7 separate regions of the Homo sapiens genome follow, and all the other regions are linked to region 7. Evidence: promoter capture Hi-C in 16 types of primary human blood cells and fetal thymus (Javierre and others, 2016). All regions are on one chromosome and are shown on one strand. Each heading gives the region's core, a stretch centred on a gene start or on the middle of the fragment in contact. The rest is flanking DNA. Distances are from core to core; before and after follow the strand shown. Region 1 overlaps FGGY (FGGY carbohydrate kinase domain containing). Region 2 has its middle 32 kb from the start of MIR4711. Region 3 overlaps FGGY (FGGY carbohydrate kinase domain containing). Region 4 overlaps FGGY (FGGY carbohydrate kinase domain containing). Region 5 overlaps FGGY (FGGY carbohydrate kinase domain containing). Region 6 overlaps FGGY (FGGY carbohydrate kinase domain containing). Region 7 holds the start of JUN (Jun proto-oncogene, AP-1 transcription factor subunit).

What was found. The method cuts DNA at HindIII sites, captures the fragments that hold promoters and counts their contacts. A CHiCAGO score of 5 or more calls a contact.
Region 1: a fragment that was not itself captured here is called in contact with the fragment with the promoter of JUN in region 7 in 1 of 17 cell types (neutrophils); the score reaches 6.5 in neutrophils.
Region 2: a contact is called between a fragment that was not itself captured here and the fragment with the promoter of JUN in region 7, in 9 of 17 cell types (endothelial precursors, M0 macrophages, megakaryocytes and 6 more). The highest score is 16.5, in endothelial precursors.
Region 3: a contact is called between a fragment that was not itself captured here and the fragment with the promoter of JUN in region 7, in 9 of 17 cell types (monocytes, neutrophils, megakaryocytes and 6 more). The highest score is 11.2, in monocytes.
Region 4: a contact is called between a fragment that was not itself captured here and the fragment with the promoter of JUN in region 7, in 9 of 17 cell types (M0 macrophages, M2 macrophages, endothelial precursors and 6 more). The highest score is 26.9, in M0 macrophages.
Region 5: a contact is called between a fragment that was not itself captured here and the fragment with the promoter of JUN in region 7, in 4 of 17 cell types (fetal thymus, total B cells, naive CD4 T cells and 1 more). The highest score is 7.0, in fetal thymus.
Region 6: a contact is called between a fragment that was not itself captured here and the fragment with the promoter of JUN in region 7, in 4 of 17 cell types (neutrophils, naive CD8 T cells, naive B cells and 1 more). The highest score is 7.5, in neutrophils.

What each region holds. Positions count from the first base shown.
Region 1 is chr1:59,629,016-59,631,915 of GRCh38, forward strand. All of the region lies in intron 10 of FGGY (FGGY carbohydrate kinase domain containing), which reads left to right. Among named protein-coding and RNA genes, the nearest start is that of MIR4711, 100 kb to the right of the region's middle. The HindIII fragment of the contact is 2,362 bases long and covers 401-2,762 here.
Region 2 is chr1:59,763,652-59,766,455 of GRCh38, forward strand. No RefSeq gene overlaps it. Among named protein-coding and RNA genes, the nearest start is that of MIR4711, 32 kb to the left of the region's middle. The HindIII fragment of the contact is 2,468 bases long and covers 113-2,580 here.
Region 3 is chr1:59,724,942-59,727,691 of GRCh38, forward strand. The region is part of intron 14 of FGGY (FGGY carbohydrate kinase domain containing); the gene reads left to right. Among named protein-coding and RNA genes, the nearest start is that of MIR4711, 7.0 kb to the right of the region's middle. The HindIII fragment of the contact is 8,352 bases long and covers 1-2,750 here.
Region 4 is chr1:59,744,186-59,746,885 of GRCh38, forward strand. All of the region lies in intron 14 of FGGY (FGGY carbohydrate kinase domain containing), which reads left to right. Among named protein-coding and RNA genes, the nearest start is that of MIR4711, 12 kb to the left of the region's middle. The HindIII fragment of the contact is 3,397 bases long and covers 1-2,700 here.
Region 5 is chr1:59,573,741-59,576,587 of GRCh38, forward strand. All of the region lies in intron 8 of FGGY (FGGY carbohydrate kinase domain containing), which reads left to right. Among named protein-coding and RNA genes, the nearest start is that of MIR4711, 160 kb to the right of the region's middle. The HindIII fragment of the contact is 158 bases long and covers 1,332-1,489 here.
Region 6 is chr1:59,656,175-59,658,874 of GRCh38, forward strand. The region is part of intron 11 of FGGY (FGGY carbohydrate kinase domain containing); the gene reads left to right. Among named protein-coding and RNA genes, the nearest start is that of MIR4711, 76 kb to the right of the region's middle. The HindIII fragment of the contact is 6,293 bases long and covers 1-2,700 here.
Region 7 is chr1:58,782,745-58,785,444 of GRCh38, forward strand. JUN (Jun proto-oncogene, AP-1 transcription factor subunit) reads right to left here and starts at 1,303. Exons shown (of 1, transcript NM_002228.4): 1 at 1-1,303. The coding sequence starts at 326. It overlaps JUN-DT (JUN divergent transcript), which reads left to right and starts at 2,407. Exons shown (of 2, transcript NR_108106.1): 1 at 2,407-2,561. RefSeq lists enhancers at 1,001-1,748, 1,263-1,522, 1,749-2,494. The HindIII fragment of the contact is 7,855 bases long and covers 1-2,700 here.

The sequences.
Region 1 (2,900 bases), core at 332-2,831, 850 kb after region 7:
GGTAATGATAAAAATTACTGTTGGGGAACATCACACACCGAGGCCTGTCGTGGGATGGGGGGATAGGGGAGGGATAGCATTAGGAGAAATACCTAATGTAAATGACGAGTTAACGGGTGCAGCAAACCAACATGGCACATGTATACATATGTAACAAACCTGTACATTGTGTACATGTACCCTGGAACTTAAATAAAAAATGAATAAATAATAAATAAATAAATAAATGATTGTTGTAGTTAGTATATTAGACATTTCCATTCTACTAAGTGACTTACATTCTAATAGGATCAGCACACCTACACAGAGCAGAATAAATGAATACTGTAGTAAAATATACGTAGTGTGTTATCAGGCTGTGTAGAAAAGGAGGACTGATTTTGACAAGGAGTTTAAGAAAAGCTTCATAGGCATTCCCTTCTAGGAGTCTTTAGTTATAATGCCATTGCAATTAGTCATTAATTACAATTACCATTGAGAGGGATTATGTCACATAACCTTACCAACTAGCATATTAGTGGCATAGAGACCATATAACCTAGAAAAGGGATTCCTAATTTCGGATCATCAATGAACCTCTTTAAATTGTGTACTGTTCTGCTGATTACATAATTCTGCATGTATTTCTGTGAAGGGACCATAACGGTCATTATTTTCTTAAAGGGTTTAAGCATTTATAAACCACTAAGCCAAAGAAAAGAGCACTAAATTTATAGTCTGGAGACCTGAATCCAAATCTCAGCTCCAACATGTATCATTGTGTGAAACCCATTTTCTTCATTATAACATAGGATAGTAATGGAGAATCAACCCGAAACACCTCTAAGGATTTATTTTGAGTTTAGAAGAGGTAATATATTTGACGGGGCCTTGTAAACTGAATTGTGACAATAATGATGATCACTACTACTCTGTTAGTCCATTCTTGCACTGCTGTGAAGAAATACCTGAGACTGGGTAATTTATAAAGGAAAGAGGTTTAATTGACTTACAGTTCTGTGGGCTGGGCAGGCATCAGGAAACTTACAGTCATGGTGGAAGGGGAAACAAACACATCCTTCTTCACATGGTGGCAAGAGAGAGAAGTGCTGAGCAAAAGGAGGAAAAGCCCCTTATAAAACCATCAGATCTCATGAGAAGTCACTATCACAAGAACAGCATGAGGGTAACCACACCCATAATTCAATTACCTCCAACCAGGTCCCTCCCACAACACATGAGGATTATGGGAACTAAAATTCAAGATGAGATTTGGTAGGGACACAGCCAAACCATATCAACTACTACTATTACTACTAATGATTGTAAGAGGAGGAAGTTTGGTGGTGGTTGCTATGGGTTCAAGCAGCATACGTCAGTCATTCATACCTTGCCTGCCTTCTTATGGAAAGCATGGAGGAACAGCAAGGACAGGGACTGTGAATTAGAGTCCTTGAGTTCTTGTACCTGTTCTGCCCTGAATGTCTCAATGACTACTAGATTCTTCATCCATAAATTACAATAATGATACCCTACTTACTTCATTTTACAGGCATTAATAGGATGAAAGCAGGTCACAGGAATGTCTGTATATGAACATTTTAGTGTGTAACACAAACTTACTGAATATTTAGTTTTGCAATGACATACTCTAAACTTCCAGAACTTTCTTCTATAGATAAACTTCATTTGAGTAGCTTCTGTTGCAAATCATAATAAAAAGAAGAAAGAATTTATGGATTACCATGCAAACTCAGAGAAACAACAGTATCGGGTGGTTCAGAAGCAGCAACTTACAGAACTCAGTGATGGAGTCAGAACTGGATTTAAATCCCACCTCTTTTCACATAACTTCAAACCCACTTCCAGCTACTTTCCTGTATTTCTCCTTCTGTTTAGAGTGGAGTTTCTCCAAAGCATCGCCTGTACTCTTGGTCTCTACTTCTCCACTTCCTACTCCTTCCTTGCCCACTGCAGTTTGAATTCTGTCACCATCAGCCCCCTGAAACGTTTCATATTAAGGTTATCAGTGACCTCTATTTTGCTAAGTCCATAGGATGTTTTTTATTCCCCTTTCTTTAGTTCTCAGCAGCATGGGGCATCAGTGATCACTTTTTCCTCCTTTTAACATTCTCTTTCCTTGACTTTCTGGAATGTCACCCTGTCTGTTTTCTCCCTATATCTCTGATTCCTCCTTCCTAACCACTTTTCTTGAGTTTATAGTCCTTTTCTTGACCATTAACATTAATTTTTGTCACAGCTAGCTTCCTGGCCCTCTTCTCTCTTTGCCATCTCTTCCAAGATGATCTCAGCTATGCTCTTGACTTCATTTCTGTCTATATTTTGATGACTCTTTTATGTCCAGCCCAGATACTTAGTAGGTATTCAGTAAATGTTAGTTCGGTTTCCTTCCACTTTTCTTTTATTGTCTTACAAAGGAAAGTGCATCTGTGTCTTATTAGATCTATGAGTACAATATTCTAAAACTATGGGACCCTTTATGCTTCCGGTCTTAGAAAGAAACAGGCATAGCTGTTTTTGAAATGAAGTTAGCTGTTTGGAAGAGTGGACAAATCCTTCTGAATCAAGAACCATGTGTCTCTTTTACTATGACTTGGGGCTTTCTGAAAACAGCAATGCAGGTCACCCCTATCTCAGAGCTTAGGGTCAGCAAATCCTGTTTGAAACTGTGGAAACAAGTGTTGATAAACAGATTGAGTATTTTATACTCTTGATTTACAATAATCCTCTTAGGCCCCATCTCTGAAGAGAAGTGTTTTGCAAGCTTATAAATTAAGTAAACAAGAACTGGATGTGCCCGTACATGTAACTGGTAACCAAAGTTTCTCTTCATGTGGGGCCAAATTTGCAGATATTTCACTCTTTAGCAGAGATCACCTTATGTCAATCATAAATTTTGA
Region 2 (2,804 bases), core at 97-2,596, 980 kb after region 7:
CATTTTATTTTTTAATGGACTATATTTTTCAAAAATATCTATGTCATACTGACAAAGAAAGGCTGTGGGAAGTTTCCAGATTAAAGGAAACTGAAGAAACCTGATGGCTAAAAGCTTTTGATGTAGACAAGCACTGGGAAAACTAGCTGTTTTAGTTGATACCACAGCAGACACACAAACGCACACAGACATACACATACATATACATACATAAATATGTCAACACCCACACATAATTTCAGACCCAAGAGTAACTGCTAACGTTGATTTGAGAGCTGTCATAGCTCAAATGAGTGTGGGTAGAGGACATGCTAAGACTTCAGCAAAAGACAGCAGGTAGAGAAGAAAAAGCCAATATAATTCAGTAAATAAACATCCTCTGGAGTACTTTGTGCCACATGTTGTGGTAAGCACTGGTCTACAGGAATAAATAAGACATGGCCCCTGCCTTCAGGAACCTCCCTGTTTAATGAGAGACATAGACAAATAGATTGATGACAGTACATTATGAGAAATGCTACAATTACAAAAAAAAAAGTACCTGCTGCATGGAGCCCATCAGTCAGAAAAGGAGGAAGGAGAAGGTGGGATGAAAAACAATATGGTGTAACAGCTATGAGCCCTGGCCTGGGATCCTAGGCCTGGTCTTACCTCTTACTAGATGGGTGACTTGGAGAAAGGTCCTTAATCTTCCTAAGTCTCAGTTTCCTCATTTTGAAATGAATAGGTATTGAATATGAATATGTTTTTTTTGTTGTTGTTGTTGTTGGTTTTTTTGTTTTTGTTTTTGTTTTTGTTTTTTTGAGACGAAGTCTTGCTCTCGCCCAGGTTGGAGTGCAGTGGCTTGATCTCTGCTCACTGCAAGCTCCACCTTCCAGGTTCACGCCATTCTCCTGCCTCAGCCTCCCGAGTAGCTGGGACTACAGGCACCCGCCACCACGCCCAGCTAATTTTTTGTATTTTTAGTAGAGACGGGGGTTTCACCATGTTAGCCAGGATGGTCTCGATCTCCTGACCTCGTGATCCGCCCGCCTCGGCCTCCCAAAGTGCTGGGATTACAGGCGTGAGCCACCGCACCTGGCCTGAATATGTTAATAGTACCTACTTTACAGGATTATAATGAGGACTAAAGGAGATAATGCATATAAAGCACTCGGCTCAATTGCATGGTCCATGCCTGTGTTATTACAGGGCTCTGCTCCTAGAAGATGCTCAAAATAGTAACTGTAGTAAGCATGGAGAAGGGTGAGCACCCCAGTTATGAAGGTCAGCTCTGCAATAGCATTCTACAGTATCCAAAGGATATAGGGACCTTAGGCATAGCCCCGAGTGAAGGTGGGTGTGCGTGTCTGATCTAGCTGGCCTAAAAGCAGAAGGAAGCCCAGTGCATTCATAGATCCTAGCCAGAGGTTGCACTAGGGATAAAGGAGGATTGGGGATCACTACAGAAGAGGAGTCGGGTATTGCAGGATCTAAGCAAGATGTCAGGTCTATGGTCAAACAGGCTTCAGCTGCAAAAGCTGATTATCACTCACTGAGAAACGGGCAGGCCTGGACCTGCTCACACAAAACCCTGGTGAATGCGGTGGTTGTCTGTGGATACAAAAGGCAGACATAAAAGCATGAATAATTACCAACTATCTGCCAAGTCCTTGTTGTATGTCCTCTCCAATCCTCCTACAGCACTGTGAGGTAGGCAGCATTATCTCCACCTTATAGTTGAGAAAGTTGAGTTTCAGAAAAGACATAGTTGAGAAAATTGAGTTTCAGAAAAGATAGACACTTTGCCCAGAGTCACCAGATGGTAGCAGAGATAGGATTCAAATCCAGATCTGCCTGGATGCAAAACTTTAGGTATCACCCCACTGTAACAGCTGGAGAGGAATCCTGCCCACCACCTGCTCTTTAGTTGCAGTGCTCATGTTGTTGATTGCCAAGCTCCGGGTGCTGGCCATTCTTTCAAGCAAACTCGTATCCAAACCAAACCTGACCTGAGTTTTCACTGCTTTATAGAGAAAGGAAAACACACAGAAATTAGGCAAAAACACATGGCAACACTAGGACACCTTTGGCATCTCAACAGTGAGGAGCAGCTTGATAGAAAGGAGAAGGGCTGAAAGACCTTGGGCAACATAGCTAACCTGTCTAAGCCTCAGTCTTTCCCTCTGTGGTGGGATCATTCTGCTACCTACCTCCTAGGGTTGGTGGTAAGGATTCAGTGAAAGAACTGTGGATAAAGCCCTTAGCACAATGCCTTTCAGACAATAGGCACTCTACAAATATTGTTTCTCCATGGTTCTCTCTGCCTCCTAGCTAGGAGGTTAATCCCTAAGAAAATCATTCTGGTTCCTACTATAAAGCCACCGTGTTAGGAAAAAATATAAATGTCTATATATAATTCTATTAGAAACCACGTGTGGCTCAGTAATAAAAATTTTAATCACTCCAATACACACCTCCTTGCACTGAGAAAGGTGGTTTTATTTAATACATGCATGTAAAGTATATTTAGCTTTGATGAATAAGAATTGCAGTGTGGCCAGAGTGGTTTGTGAGATTTTTGTTTTGTTGCCTACTGAAAGCTTTTCTTTCAAGTTAAAGCCAGACTTGCTTAGCAAATCATTTTGCCAAGGAACGCATTACAGGTTTTAAATTTTGACCAAAAATACTTCCCATATGCGAAGAACATAAATGTGGCTTTCAAAAGAGCCAAAGAGAACAAAAGCTGGGGGAGGTGAGGAAGAAAAGACAAGAATGACAGAATGGAGTGGCATGTTGCAGAGCTACAGTAAACTACAGGACCC
Region 3 (2,750 bases), core at 65-2,564, 940 kb after region 7:
TCTGTTGCAGAGCAGTTTTAGAATTTTAGTGATCCAGCTTATCAATTTTTTTCATGGATTATGCTTTTGGTTTTGTATCTAAACTTATCACCTAACCCAAGGTCACCTAAATTTTTTCCTGTTATCTTCTAGATGTTTTATAGTTTTGTGTTTTACAATTACATATGTGATCCACTTTGAGTTAATTTTTGCAGAATGTCTAATGTCACTGTCTAAATTCATTGTTTTGCATGTGGACATACAATATTTCAAACATGACTTGTTGAAAATATTACACTATATCCTTTGAATTACCTTTACTCCTTTGTCAAAGGAGTTGGAAAAGGAATAAATCAGTTGACTCTATTTGTGTCTATTTCTGGATTCTCTCCTTGGTTCCATTGATCTATTTGTCTTTTCTTTCCCCAACCTTACACTGTCTTAATTATTGTAGCTTTACAGTAAGTCATGAAGTTGGGTAGTGTCAGTTCACTGACTTTGTTCTTTTTCTTTAGTATTATGTTGACTAATGTAGATCTTTTGCCTTTCCATATAAATTTTAGAATCATTTTATGGATACTTAAAAATAGTTCGCTGAAAATTCAATTTATTTATTTCATCAGAGTTTTGTAATTTTCCACATATAGATTCTGTGTACTTTTGTTAGATTTATACCTAAGTGTTTTTGTGGGGGTTTTTTTTGTTTTTTGTTTTTTGTTTTTTTTGCAGCATGCTATTTTAAGTGTTATTTCTTAATCAAATTCCATTTTTTCCTCAATGGTAATTGCTAGAAAGAAATTGACTCTTGAATATTAACCCTGTATCCTATACCCTTACTTGTTTGCTTATTAGTTCCAGGATTTGGTGGTGTTCTCATTGGGTGGGTTGGTTGATTTGTTCATTCTTTGTGATTTTCCACATAGACATTCATGTCATCTGAGAATAAAGACAGTTTTCTTTCTTTCTTTCCAGTATGTATGCCTTCTCATTTCTTTGTCTTTTTGCACTAGCTAAGACTTCCAGTACAGTCTTGAATAGGAGTGGTGAGAAAGGACATTCTTGCTTTGTTCCTGATCTTAGTGGGAAAGCATCCAGTTTTCCATCAAGTATGATAATAGCTGTAGAGTTTTTTTGTACATGTTCTTTATCGAGGTGAGGAAAATCCCCTATATTCATAGTTTGCTGTGAATTTTTAATTTTTAATCACAATAAAAAATGATTGTTAGATTTTTTTGAAATATTTCTCCTTCATTTATCAACATGATTATATAATTGTTTTTATTTAATCTGTTGATGTAATGGATTACATTGACTGATTTTTGAATGTTGAACCAACCTTGTACACCTGGAGTAAATCGTATTTGGTTGTGGTATATAATTCCTTTTACACGTTGTTGGATTGATTTGCTAATATTATATTAAGAATATTTTGCATCTATATTCATGAGAGAGAGTGGATTTTGGCTTTCTTTTTTTAATGTCTTTGTCTGGTTTTGGTAATAGGGTAATGCTGACCTCATAGAATGAGCCAGTAAGTTTTTCTTCTGCTTATTTTCCTGGAGGACATGGTAAAGAACTGGTATAATTTCTTCCTTAAATGTTTGCTAAAATTCACTAGTAAAAACCATTTGGGCCTGGCACTTTGGTTTTTGGAAGGTAATTAATTATTGATTCAGTTTCATTAGTGGATACAGCTCTATTCAGATGATTTATTTCTTGTGTAAATTTTGATAGTTTTTGTCTTTCAAAGAAGTAGTCCATTTCATCTAAATTATTTTTAGTTGCCAATGTTAGTAATTTGTAACTTCTCTCTTTTTATCTTGATTACCCTGGCTAAAGGTTTGTCAGTTTTATTGCTCTTTCTAAAGAACCAGCTTTGGTTTCATTGATTTTTCTCTATTGCTTTCCTGTGTTTAAATTCATTGATTTATGCTCTAATTTTTATTATTTCTTCTGCTTTTTTAAAATTTTAATTTCAACTTTTATTTTAGATACAAAGAGTACATGTATAGGTTTGTTACATAGGTATATTGTGTGATGCTAAGGTTTGGGTACAGATCCTTTCTCCCAGGTAGTGAGCATAGTACACAATAGGTAGTTTTTCAACCCATGTCTCCCCTCCCTCCTGTCCCCCTCTAGACATCCCAGTGTCTCTTGTTCCCATGTTTATGTCCATGTCTGCTCAGTGTTTAGTTCCCACTGACAAGTGAGAATATGTGGTATTTGGTTTTCTGTTCCTACATTAATTTGCATAGGATAATGGCCTCCAGCTACCTCCACGTTGTTGAAAAGGACGTGATTTTTTTCTTTTTTATGGCTGCATAGTAATCTGTGATGTACATGTTCCACATTTTCTTTATCCAGTCCACCATTGATGAACACCTAGGTTGATTATATGTCTTCACTATTATGAATAGCATGGCAATGAACATGCGAGTGCATGTGTCTTTTTGGTGAAATGATTTCTTTTCCTTTGGATGTATACCCAGTAATGGGATTGTTACATTGAATGGTAGCTCTGTTTTAAGTTCTTTGAAAATATTCACAGTTAAAATGAATTACCTAGGAATATACTAACCAAGGAGGTGAAAGATCTCTACAAGAACTATAAAACACTGCTGAAAGAAATTGGAGATGATACAAATAAATGCCAAAACATTTCATGCTCATGGATCAGAGCAATCAATATTGTTAAAATGGCCATACTTCCCATACAGATTCAATGCTATTCCTATCAAACTACCAAAATGATTTTTCACAGAATTAGAAAA
Region 4 (2,700 bases), core at 68-2,567, 960 kb after region 7:
GTAAACTGAGGGACAAAGAGGTTAGTTAAGGCCCAAGCCATTCTGTTTTGTTTGAGACAGAGTCTCCCTCTGTCATCCAGGCTGGAGTGCAGTGGCACGATCTCGGCTCACTGCAACCTCCGCCTTCTGGATTCAAGCGATTCTCCTGCCTCAGCCTCCCAAGTAGCTGGGATTACAGGCACCTGCCACCACACCCAGCTAATTTGTGTATTTTCAGTAGAGACAGGGTTTCACCATGTTGGCCAGGCTGGTCTCGAACCCCTGACCTTAGATGATCCACCCGCCTCAGCCTTCCAAAGTGCTGGGATTACAGGCGTGAGCCACTGCGCCCGGCCCACCCAAGCCATTCTGTTAGCTAGTGAAAGAGTCAAAGTTCTAATCTAGCCAGTCTAGAGCCTGTGATCCTAACTGTCTGACATCGGACAATGAAGAATGTGTTGACCTGGCAGGAAATACCAAAAAGTACAACTGAGGGAGATCCTAAACTTGCTTTATACAGATATCCTGGATCCTACCCCTGATTCATTCATTAATTCATTAATCCATTTACTCATTCATTTAATTCTTTCAACATGTATTTATTACATTTTTGCATTATTTATATCAATTTTGGGGAATACAGAGAAAGTTAATGGCTTCTACCCTTTGACATCTCACAGTCCAGTGGGGAGACGTAAGAAAACAGACATTTATCCTACTGTGTGCTGAATGATAAGACAGAGGAAAATCAGTGAGCTTTGGGAACATGGAAGAGATTATAAACACATAATAAAGAGAGTTTAAAAGGGCACTACAGTGATTTGCTTTGGACCTGCATTCCACACCTGTCACTCTATCTGTCTGACCTCTGCTCTCTCTATGCTCCTGGCTTCTAGCCCTTCTCTTACTTTGGTACCATCCTTAGCCTCTCAACTCCTGGCTTCAGATTCGATGTCTTTGCTTGTCTTTTTCCTCTGGAAGTTGGTTTGGAATGGATTCTGGCTTGGCTAGAGGGTTTCTGTATCGTAAACAGTCTAAGGCCAGCTCCAAAGTCTAGGCCAGAATATCTAGGCCCCACTACCAAAATGGCTCTCGCTTAGAAGAATTGGAGATCCAAAAGCAGGGAACTTGAAAGAGCATGGAGGGATAGATGGATGGATAGATTCCTTGCCTCTTAGCTTCGATTATTCACCTGCCTAAACCCAGAGCAGTTGGCCTAGTGACTAACCAACATCCCTTGCAGCTCAATCATTATTCATTATGTTAATATTATCACACATTTTGATTCTTTGCTGTCGATTTGGTTGCTGATCTGCTGGCCAAAGGATCATCATGGGAAGGAATTACTATTGAAGCAGGCAGTGCAAATTTCAAAAGTGTTCAGACCCTGCGGCCTTTCATGATATTTCACTTTCTTGAGTTGCAGTCTCCCATTGGCCTGCTCCTTCCGAAGCAGATTTTGTCCCTTGTAGCCATAAGTGAAGCATATCCTGGCTAAATGTTTCTGTGGACTGAAGGTAGCTATTGAATTGGGCAGTTAAGAGAATATTGCAGATTCTTGTCGGTAAATGACACAAAAGATGATGGACTCTAAGCTAGCTATGGAAGAAATTAGAGCCAGACAGGGCACATGAATTGAAAGAAAATGAAGTGATGGAGATTCTGGAAGTTGCTTTAAAGTGGAGAAGGACATTTGCTAAGAATGATAGAGTACATGAGAGAATTGGACTGAAGGGCAATGGAATTCAGAAAGTGGCTGTTGGTATATTGTAATATTCATAAGTATAGCAGTCTCAAGGGGGGCTGTGGGAGTATTGAAGTGAAATGGAGATGAAGGTCCCGGAGGTGGAAACATTTTGAAACCGTCTAACAGTGGAACATTGGATGGGTCTTATGAGCAGATGCTGAAGTTGTCCAGGACAATGATAAACCTCCAGGTAGATAGGGAGGCTTGTGATCTAGGAGCCTTAGCCTCATTTAACATAGGGACAGAAACAAGAGGCTGACAGTGACAGCAGTGAGATGCAGGGGAGACATGTGTCATTGTATCTCCATCATTAGGTGGCATAAACCTCAGAGGAACAGGCTTTTTTGCCTGCAACTGCAGGAATACTTGTCTGGAAATGATAATGAGGAGGCCTGAGAATAATGACTGTTATCACCTTCCCCAACCCACCTGAAACATACACACATGGCAACACTTACCTTTCAATAAAGTTTCTGGGAAAATAAAGTTTATTTCAGTTGATAGGTACATAGTAATAATAACAATATCTGCACTTTTAAGCATTTAGTCCATCCAATAGGCCTATAAAATAGGTATTAAAACTTCCCTTTTTTTGAGACAGCATCTTACTGTGTCGCCCAGGCTGGAGAGCAGTGGCACAATCGAGGTTCACTTCAGCCTCAACCTCCCAGACTCAAGGGATCCTCCTATCTCAGTCAGCCTTCTGAGTAGCTGGGCCTACAAACACGTACCATCACACCTGGCTAATTTTTATTTTATGTTTTTGTTGAGATAGGGTTTCCCTATCTTGCCCAGGCTGGTTTCAAACTCGTTTCAAGCGATCCTCCCACCTCAGCCTCCCAAAGTGCTGGGATTACAGGTGTGAATCACTGCATCCAGCCTAAAATTTCCATTTTTAAAATGAGGAAATTGAGACTCAGGATGTTCATGGCAGAACTAGGGTTTGGATTATGATCTAAATATCACTGAAGTCT
Region 5 (2,847 bases), core at 161-2,660, 790 kb after region 7:
AGAATTTATTTTAGAATTTACCATTTGGAAAAGTGTTGTTCAATCTCAAATGGTGTATTTTCATCTTTCCAGTAATAAAAGCTATATAATGGATTACATTTTTCTTCTGGCCCTGGAAGCCAAGGAAACTCAGAGTTAAAAATTTAACACTCAAGCTAAACTGTTGAGCCTTCTACTACATAGCATATTTCCATTCTTCTTTTTGCTGTAATTGTCTTGCATTACTGTTTCTAGTCACTCTGTACTATATTATCTGTGTATGTATGTTTGTGGGAGTGGTAGATAAAATATCTCAAACTCTTTGTATTAGTTTCCTATGGCTGCTATTGTAGCAAGTTGCCATACACTTGGTGGCTTAAAACAACACACATATATTTTCTTATGGTTCTCGAGACTAGAAGTTCAAAACCAGTTTCACTCAGCCAAGATCAAGTGTCAACAGGGCCGTACTCCCTCTGGAGGTTCCAGGGGAAAACCTGTTCCTTGCTTCTTCCAGCATCTGGTGGCTGCTGGCATTCCTTGGCTTGTGGCCACATCATTCCAGCCTTGCCTTCTGTGGTTTCATTGCCTCCTCCTCATCTGTGGTCACATCTGCCTCTCCCTGTCTCTTACAAGAACAGTTATGATTGCATTTAGGCCAACTCAAATAATCCAAGATTGTCTCCTCATGTCAGGATCCTTAATCACATTTGTGGGTCCTTTTTTTTTCTTTCTTTTTTATTTTTTTGCCATATGAGTAACATTCATAGGTTCCAGGGATTTGAACATGGTGATCTTTTCAGGAGCCATTATTCAGCCTACCATACCCTTTATGGAAAGAAGTGACATTTAAATGTGTTTTTTAAGGTACATAAAAATAAAGTATTAATTTATTTGGAAAATATAAAGTACTTCTGCACTCTGTGTATAGTGAAGGAACAAAGATAAAAGAAATCAAATTTCTGTTTAGTGATTTTTCATTGCTTTTATGAATTACATTGAATTTTCTATTATATTTCCTATTTGGTTATTTCTGGAATAGAGAAATATATTTGACTTTTTTTAGAAAGTAAATTATTTGTTAATATGAATGAATAATACCTGTGAGATTTCCAATGAAAAGAAGCAAAGTTTTATACATCAAATTTGCTTCCAAATGCTAATATACTAAAATCAGTGCTAGTTATGTTTAATATAGGTTGCTGAGAAAAATAGTTATCTTTTATGGTTTTTAAAAAGTGTATGTTAATTTATTTTTATCGTTTATTTCTTACTGACAAATGCAAATTGTATATATTTATGGGGTTCAATGTGAATTTTGATATACTATATATTGTAAAATGATTAAATCAAGCTTATTGACATATTCATTACCTCACATACTTTTTTGTGGTGAGAACATTTAAAATCTACTCTCTTAGTAATTTTCAAATATACAATACATTTTTATTAACTATAGTCACCATGCTGTGCAACAGATCTTCAAAACTTATTCCTCCTGTCTAACCCAAGCTTAGTACAATTTGGCCAACATCTCTGCTTTACCCCTTGGCAACCCCACCCTAATAACCAACATTCTACTCTCTACTTCTATGAGTTCAACTTTATTAAGCTTTACATATAAGTGAAATCGTGCAGTATTTATCCCTCTGTGTGTGGTTTATTTTACTTAGCATAATGTTCTCCAGGATCGTCTGTGTCACTGCAAATGACAGAATTTCCTTCTTTTTTAAGACTGAATAGTATTTTGTTTTGAATCTATGGCACATTTTCTTGATCTGTTGATGGACATTTAGGTTGATTTCATATCTTGGCAATTGTGAATAATGGTGCAGTGAACATGAGAGTGCAGACATCTCTTCAACATATTGTTTGCATTTCGTTTAGATACACCCAGAAGTAGAATTGCCTGATCACATGGTAATTTGTCATTTTTTTGAGGAAACTCCATACTGTTTTACAAAATGCCTGTACTAGTTTACATTCCCACAGATTTTTAAAAAGTTAATCTTCTACCCACTAACCTTGCTAAACTTTCTTATTTTTTTAAAATGTGCATGTATTATATATGCTCTGCATGCATTATAAATGTTACAGTAATTTTTAGGTACAACACTAAATATTCTCATATGGTTTGGATGGTCAGTGAAGGCTTCTGTAAGGAAGTGATATCTGTGATATTTTGGTTAGGAAAAAAGTGGTCCAAACATAGAGGACAGTATGAGCTATATATACAAGATCATATCATCTGCAAATTTTGCTTCTCTCTTCCCTTCTTTATATCTTCTTTTGCTGTTAATTTTTGTCTAATTGTGTTTGCTAGGGCCTCTGGTATTATGCTGAACAGTTGTGGTGATAAAAAGCATTCTCACATGCACACATATGTTTATTGCAGCACTGTTTACAATAGCAAAGATTTGGAACCAACCCAAATGCCCCTCAATGATAGACTGGATAAGGAAAATGTGGCACATATTTACCATGGAATACTATGCAGCCATAAAAAAGAATGAGTTCATGTCCTTTGCAGGGACATGGATGAATCTGGGAGCCATCATTCTCAGCAAACTAACACAGGAACAGAAAAACAAACACTGCATGTTCTCACTCATAAGCAGGAGTTGAACAGTGAGAACACATGGACACAGGGAGGGGAACATCACACACTGAGGCCAGTCGGGGGGTAGGGGGAAAGGGGAAGGGAGAGCATTAGGACAAATGCCTAATGCATGCAGGGCTTAAAGCCTAGATGACGGGTTGATAGGTGCAGCAAACCACCATGGCACATGTATACTTATGTAACAAACCTGCACGTTCTGCACACGTATCCCAGAACTTAAAGTAAAATAATAAATAAGCATTCTCATC
Region 6 (2,700 bases), core at 126-2,625, 870 kb after region 7:
TTCCCTACACATTTGTCTGTCTCGCCCAAACATTCAAAATAGGCACAGGCACATCAATAAACACACTCCTTCTACTCATGCTTCCTCTCCACTTCCTCTTGTTGGAACCATTCAGCCTCCAGCTAGGGAATCAGTTCATCTGGCCTATCCTAGCCTTTTCAGCCATTTCAAAGCTGTGCCTCTCCCAGGACTTCTTTGGCACTCCCAGGGCACTGTCACCACCTCCCTTCGAAGACAGCTCCCCGAGGGTCCTTTGTAGCCTCTCAAGCAGTCTTCATGGCACTCCTTGCAAAGTTCCGTCATGGGTTGACTGGGCTGAGGTCCCTGGTATTTGAGAGAAAATTAAATGGACTTAACGATCATCTGCATATCAGATGAGATGTCAAGGAAACAAGGACCTCAGACCACAGTGTCTTTGCACTTGAGAGATAAATATCTTTCACTAAGTCACATTTCAATACCATGGCTCTAGTGTTAGTGGTGAGGGAATACTGGAAACGGTTGTATGAGAATTGTGTTTGTGGCTTCCCTTTTGATACTGAATACCTTCTATATTATGATCCATGCAAGAAATCTCTTCTAGAATTTCTTCCCAGGAATAATTTTGTCTCCCTTCAAGGATAGCTATGTTTTATTTATCAGAAAAAAAGCTATTTCACCCTCATGTGTCCCTTTTTGCCATAGCTGCTAGCAAGCTCAGGATTTAAATTTAGTGCTCAATTACATTGATTATATCATTCTCAGTTTCTGGGGAAAAAAATTATCCTCCCGTTTCTGCTCTATGATTTCTGAGCTCTGGAGGCACTGGAAATTTAGAGAAGGGTCCGTGATATCTTTTTGCATGAATACCAATGCTTTTTGGAAATTCTCGTGGATATCTGCTGGGGATTAAGGAAGTTAAATCCAGCTATGTCACACCCTTTCTTCTCTCTTATGGATTCTTACTAATTGAGAAGGATATCAGAACCCATTACATTATCAGTATTATTATACAAAGCACTGGGGTTCCTAATAAATATTGTTAGGGGAATGCATCTTATATACAAAGTCATATTTTACCCCCACTCCCAACAAAAATCATCCAAATCTGGTCTTCAGGAGTGGGTCAGCCACACAGAGGATCATGGCTTAATCCTCTTCCCATTGATGACCAGAGAGAGGAAGCCAAAGGGAGGCAGCCTCCTGGACAGGCTCTAGAACAGTGCACTAAGCCATGGCCCAGCAACTTCCCTAGGAGACCTAATAGCAGAGGTGCTGTTGAGGCCAGGCCAGTACAGGAGAGACAGAGAAACCGTGTGTGAATGGTGTTCATGACTAGTGATCATTGCCAGGACCACCGCATGCTAGCATGGTGCAGGCAGCTCGCAGAAAGTGTTCAGCTCAGGGATGTTCAGCTCATGACTGGTGTTCATGACTAGTGATCATTGCCAGGACCACTGCATGCCAGCATGGTGCAGGCAGCTCACAGAAAGTGTTCCACTCAGGGGGCTATGACCAGGCTGAAATCCTGCTTACTCTGCACCTTTTTATAATTCATACTCCCAGATGGGGTGCCTTTTTCAAACTCAAGACAAAGGCTCTATATGAGGTACAGGGACCCTTCCTTTTACCCTATTCTCATAAAAGCCACTTCTCTGATGAGAAAGGGTAAGTTTAGGGATGGTGGAGGGCAGGTGGCAACATGGAGCAAGTAACTAAAAGTGTTCTTCCAGTGTTCTTTTCTCTTGGGGCATGGTCTCCTCCTCTCTGATTGTGTGAGGAGCTGAGGCAGTAAACTTTGTCCACCTGTACTTGTAGAATTTAACAAAGAAGGATAGGACATAAGGAGAGAAAGTGGTGTCTAAAAGGTGAAAAGAAGCATTGAATTGTCACTGGTTCATAGTTCACAGTGCTGAGTGAATTGTCACTCAGCAAATATTAACTGAGTGCTTACTATGTTCCAGGCACAGCACTGGACATTAGAGCTTTGGTGAGTAAGACGAGCAAAGACCATCAGAACACCTACATTCTGGTGTCCATTCTCTGTGTTCCCTTAGGCACATTATTTCCTCACTGTGAAATAAAGTTCCATAATGTCAGCATTGTTCATGTTCTCTCTGAGTTCCAGAATTCTTACCATATGCTTAGGTCTCTGGGAAACTTTGTGAAGGATGTTCTTTCACAGTTAATGGCTTAGGATGATTCAGCGCCAGAGTTCTTCTCGTGTCTCTCATTTAAATTTTCCATCTTCTTGTGTATTAAAAAATCAAAGCCATCATTCTAATCTGATTGCCCAATTATTTGCCAAGAAAAACTGTCAGCAGGTAGCTCTACTGAATGTAGGAATCCCCGCATCAACAGACTTAGATAAATAATTCAGCATAGCTGGAGCATAGGATACAGAGTGAGGAGGGACAAGAGTAAACACTGGAGAAGAAGCAAGGGCGAGCCCAGGAAGAAGCACATGAGACAGTGAACGCATTTCTACTGTGAAATGAGGGCAATGGGGAGAACGTTTTACAGGGAGTAACACGATCAGATTTGCATTTAAGAACAGTCGATCTAGCTCTAGTATGGAAAGGAGCACAATTAGAAACAGTGAGATTTGCTCAGGGCCTCTGTCAGCAATTAGGAAGGACATAATGGTGGCTTGAATTAAGGAAGTGAATGACAGTAAGGATCAAGAAAAGGAGATGCATTCAAAAGAGATTTGGGAGATCA
Region 7 (2,700 bases), core at 53-2,552:
CCCTCCTGCTCATCTGTCACGTTCTTGGGGCACAGGAACTGGGTGGGGGTCGGCGTGGTGGTGATGTGCCCGTTGCTGGACTGGATTATCAGGCGCTCCAGCTCGGGCGACGCCAGCTTGAGCAGCCCCACGTCGGGCGAGGTGAGGAGGTCCGAGTTCTTGGCGCGGAGGTGCGGCTTCAGGCTCCCCACTGGGTCGGCCAGGTTCAGGGTCATGCTCTGTTTCAGGATCTTGGGGTTACTGTAGCCATAAGGTCCGCTCTCGGACGGGAGGAACGAGGCGTTGAGGGCATCGTCATAGAAGGTCGTTTCCATCTTTGCAGTCATAGAACAGTCCGTCACTTCACGTGAGGTTAGTTTGGGCTGCGCGCACAAGTTTCGGGGCCGCAACAGGGCTGTGGCAAGCGGGGGACACCCGCGCCCCCCGGAGCCTTTGACAGGGAAAGTTTCTCTAAGAGCGCACGCACCCGCTGGCTGTCGTCCCCGCTGCGCCCTCCTCACCAGCTCGCTCCAGGGAGCGCAGGGTTAATTAAGATGCCTCCCGCACTCTTACTTGTCGACTCGCGCGCGCTACCCGGCTTTGAAAAGTCGCGGTCACTCACTGAGCGCTCTTCGTGCGCAGCGGTTCCTCGGAGTCCGCAGGCGAACTCACTTCCCAGAGCAGCGGCTCTCCCCGCGGAGCGGATCAGTGCGGACCCTGCAGTGGCCGGCCGGCGGCGGGTCTTGGCCGCCCGGACTCCGACGACTTGTCCCCTCCTCCGCTGCTAGGGGGAGGGGGCGCCCGGCAGCCGCGGCTCGCGCTCGCCCAAGTTCAACAACCGGTGCGAGCGAAGCTGAGCGCACGTCCTTCTTCTCTTGCGTGGCTCTCCGCCGCCTTCTGGTCTTTACCGCCGTGGAGAAGCCTAAGACGCAGGAAAGGCTTGCAAAAGTTGGCTCCGGGACTCTGCCACTTGTCTCCGGTCCTCCCAGCCGGGAAAGTTCTTTGCTGCTGCAGCCGCTCGCCGACTTCCCCCGGCGGGCGCGTGGGTACCGCTGCTTTCCGCCGCTGTCAACAGCGCCTGGGCAGCAGGGCTCTCCTCCCGGGGGCGGCTGGAGACCAGGCTCTCTGGACACTCCCGAAACACCAGCCCGGGAGCCACAGGCGCTAGCTCTGGGCAGTTAGAGAGAAGGTGAAAAGAAAATAAGATTTGCAGTTCGGACTATACTGCCGACCTGGCTGGCTGGCTGTGTCTGTCTGTCTGCCTGACTCCGCGCACCTCCACTCCCGCCTCGCTGCTTCAGCCACACTCAGTGCAACTCTGAGCCCTTATCCAGCCCGAGCTCAACACTTATCTGCTACCAGTCAACCCCTAAAAATAGCCCATGATGTCACCCCAAGGCCTTCCCATTGGCTCGCGTCGCTCTCAGGGGGGCGGGCCCGCCCGTCACCATGGAGACTCCACCCTAGAAGATTCTTCTCTGGGCCCGCGGAGGCTCACGGGATGAGGTAATGCTCCGCTGCCCTCCTACAGTCGGGCCCTTCTTTCTCCTACCCTCCCCCCTGCCGCACGCCTCTCGGCCCTCTCTTCCCCGGTCCCCTCCCCGGGCCGTTTTTCCCGGCCCGCCCGGTGCATTGTGGGCTGACGTCTTGGGGTTTGACTGTCTAGTGACGGTGGCTGCCGCGAGCGGGCGGACGCTCGCAACCTCTGATGGAGGGGGGCTCAAGTTCACGGCTGCGGACGGGGATGCGGGGGATGCAGGGACCCGGGAGGCCAGGGAACCTGGCCAGTTGTTTTGGGCCAGGGGTGCGGGCGAGGGGTGGTTGTTGTTTCCCCACTTGTGGGGCCCGAAGTCATCCACCGGCGGCCGCCACCGCGCGGGGCTGGAGGCTGAGAATCCAAGTACGCTGCCACCCCCCCGCACTTCCGGGGGGGCGGGAATACCGCCCTTAAGGTGGCTCTGTGAAGTCCCAGGTGGGGGCGAGCCTAAGGGGACTTAAGTTTAGGGGCGGTCTCCCGAGAGTCGGCCCCCCACGTTGAGAACACTCCGAAGTTTGCATCTCGGTCAAGTTCAGGAGCGACGGTCCGCGGGGTCGTCTGGCTGCTCGTAGAAGCCGAGAGATTTGTATTGCCCGAAACTGGACGCTCAGCTGAGTCTCCGTTGCACCCCACTTCATCCTCCGGGACCGTGGGGGAAAGGGCGCGGGGGTTCACAGCTTTGCCTCGGAGGGGCAGTTTTTATAGTGGGCGCAATTGGTGGGTAACAGGGTCCAGATGGGAACAAGCGTGTAGGCGATCCGAAACTCGGGGAACCCCGGTGTTAGTCTACTCCCCCTCCCGCCCCCGGACAACACGCACACGCTTAACACAACACGCACAACATAACGCGCGCGCGCGCGCACACACACACTCCATCCGCGCCGAGTTGCTTCCGGGAAAACAAGCCCAGAAGGCGGCGGACACTCGCATAAAGTCACGCAGTAGTACTCGGAGCCCGGGGTAGAACCTGGACTTCAAATCTCTGCACTCCCGGCCGGGTGGTGGGCGCATATCCTGGGTAGCCTCTAGGAAGCGCTAGACACATGTAAGTGGTTCCTTTTCCGCGGTTATTTTATTCTCCCCCCGCCCCCCACCCCTTAGGGACGAAAGTGTGTGGTGGAAAGAATCCCGAAGTCGGGAATCCTGGTTCTTTCGTGGCCAGGCTACCACAGTGTGAAGCAAGC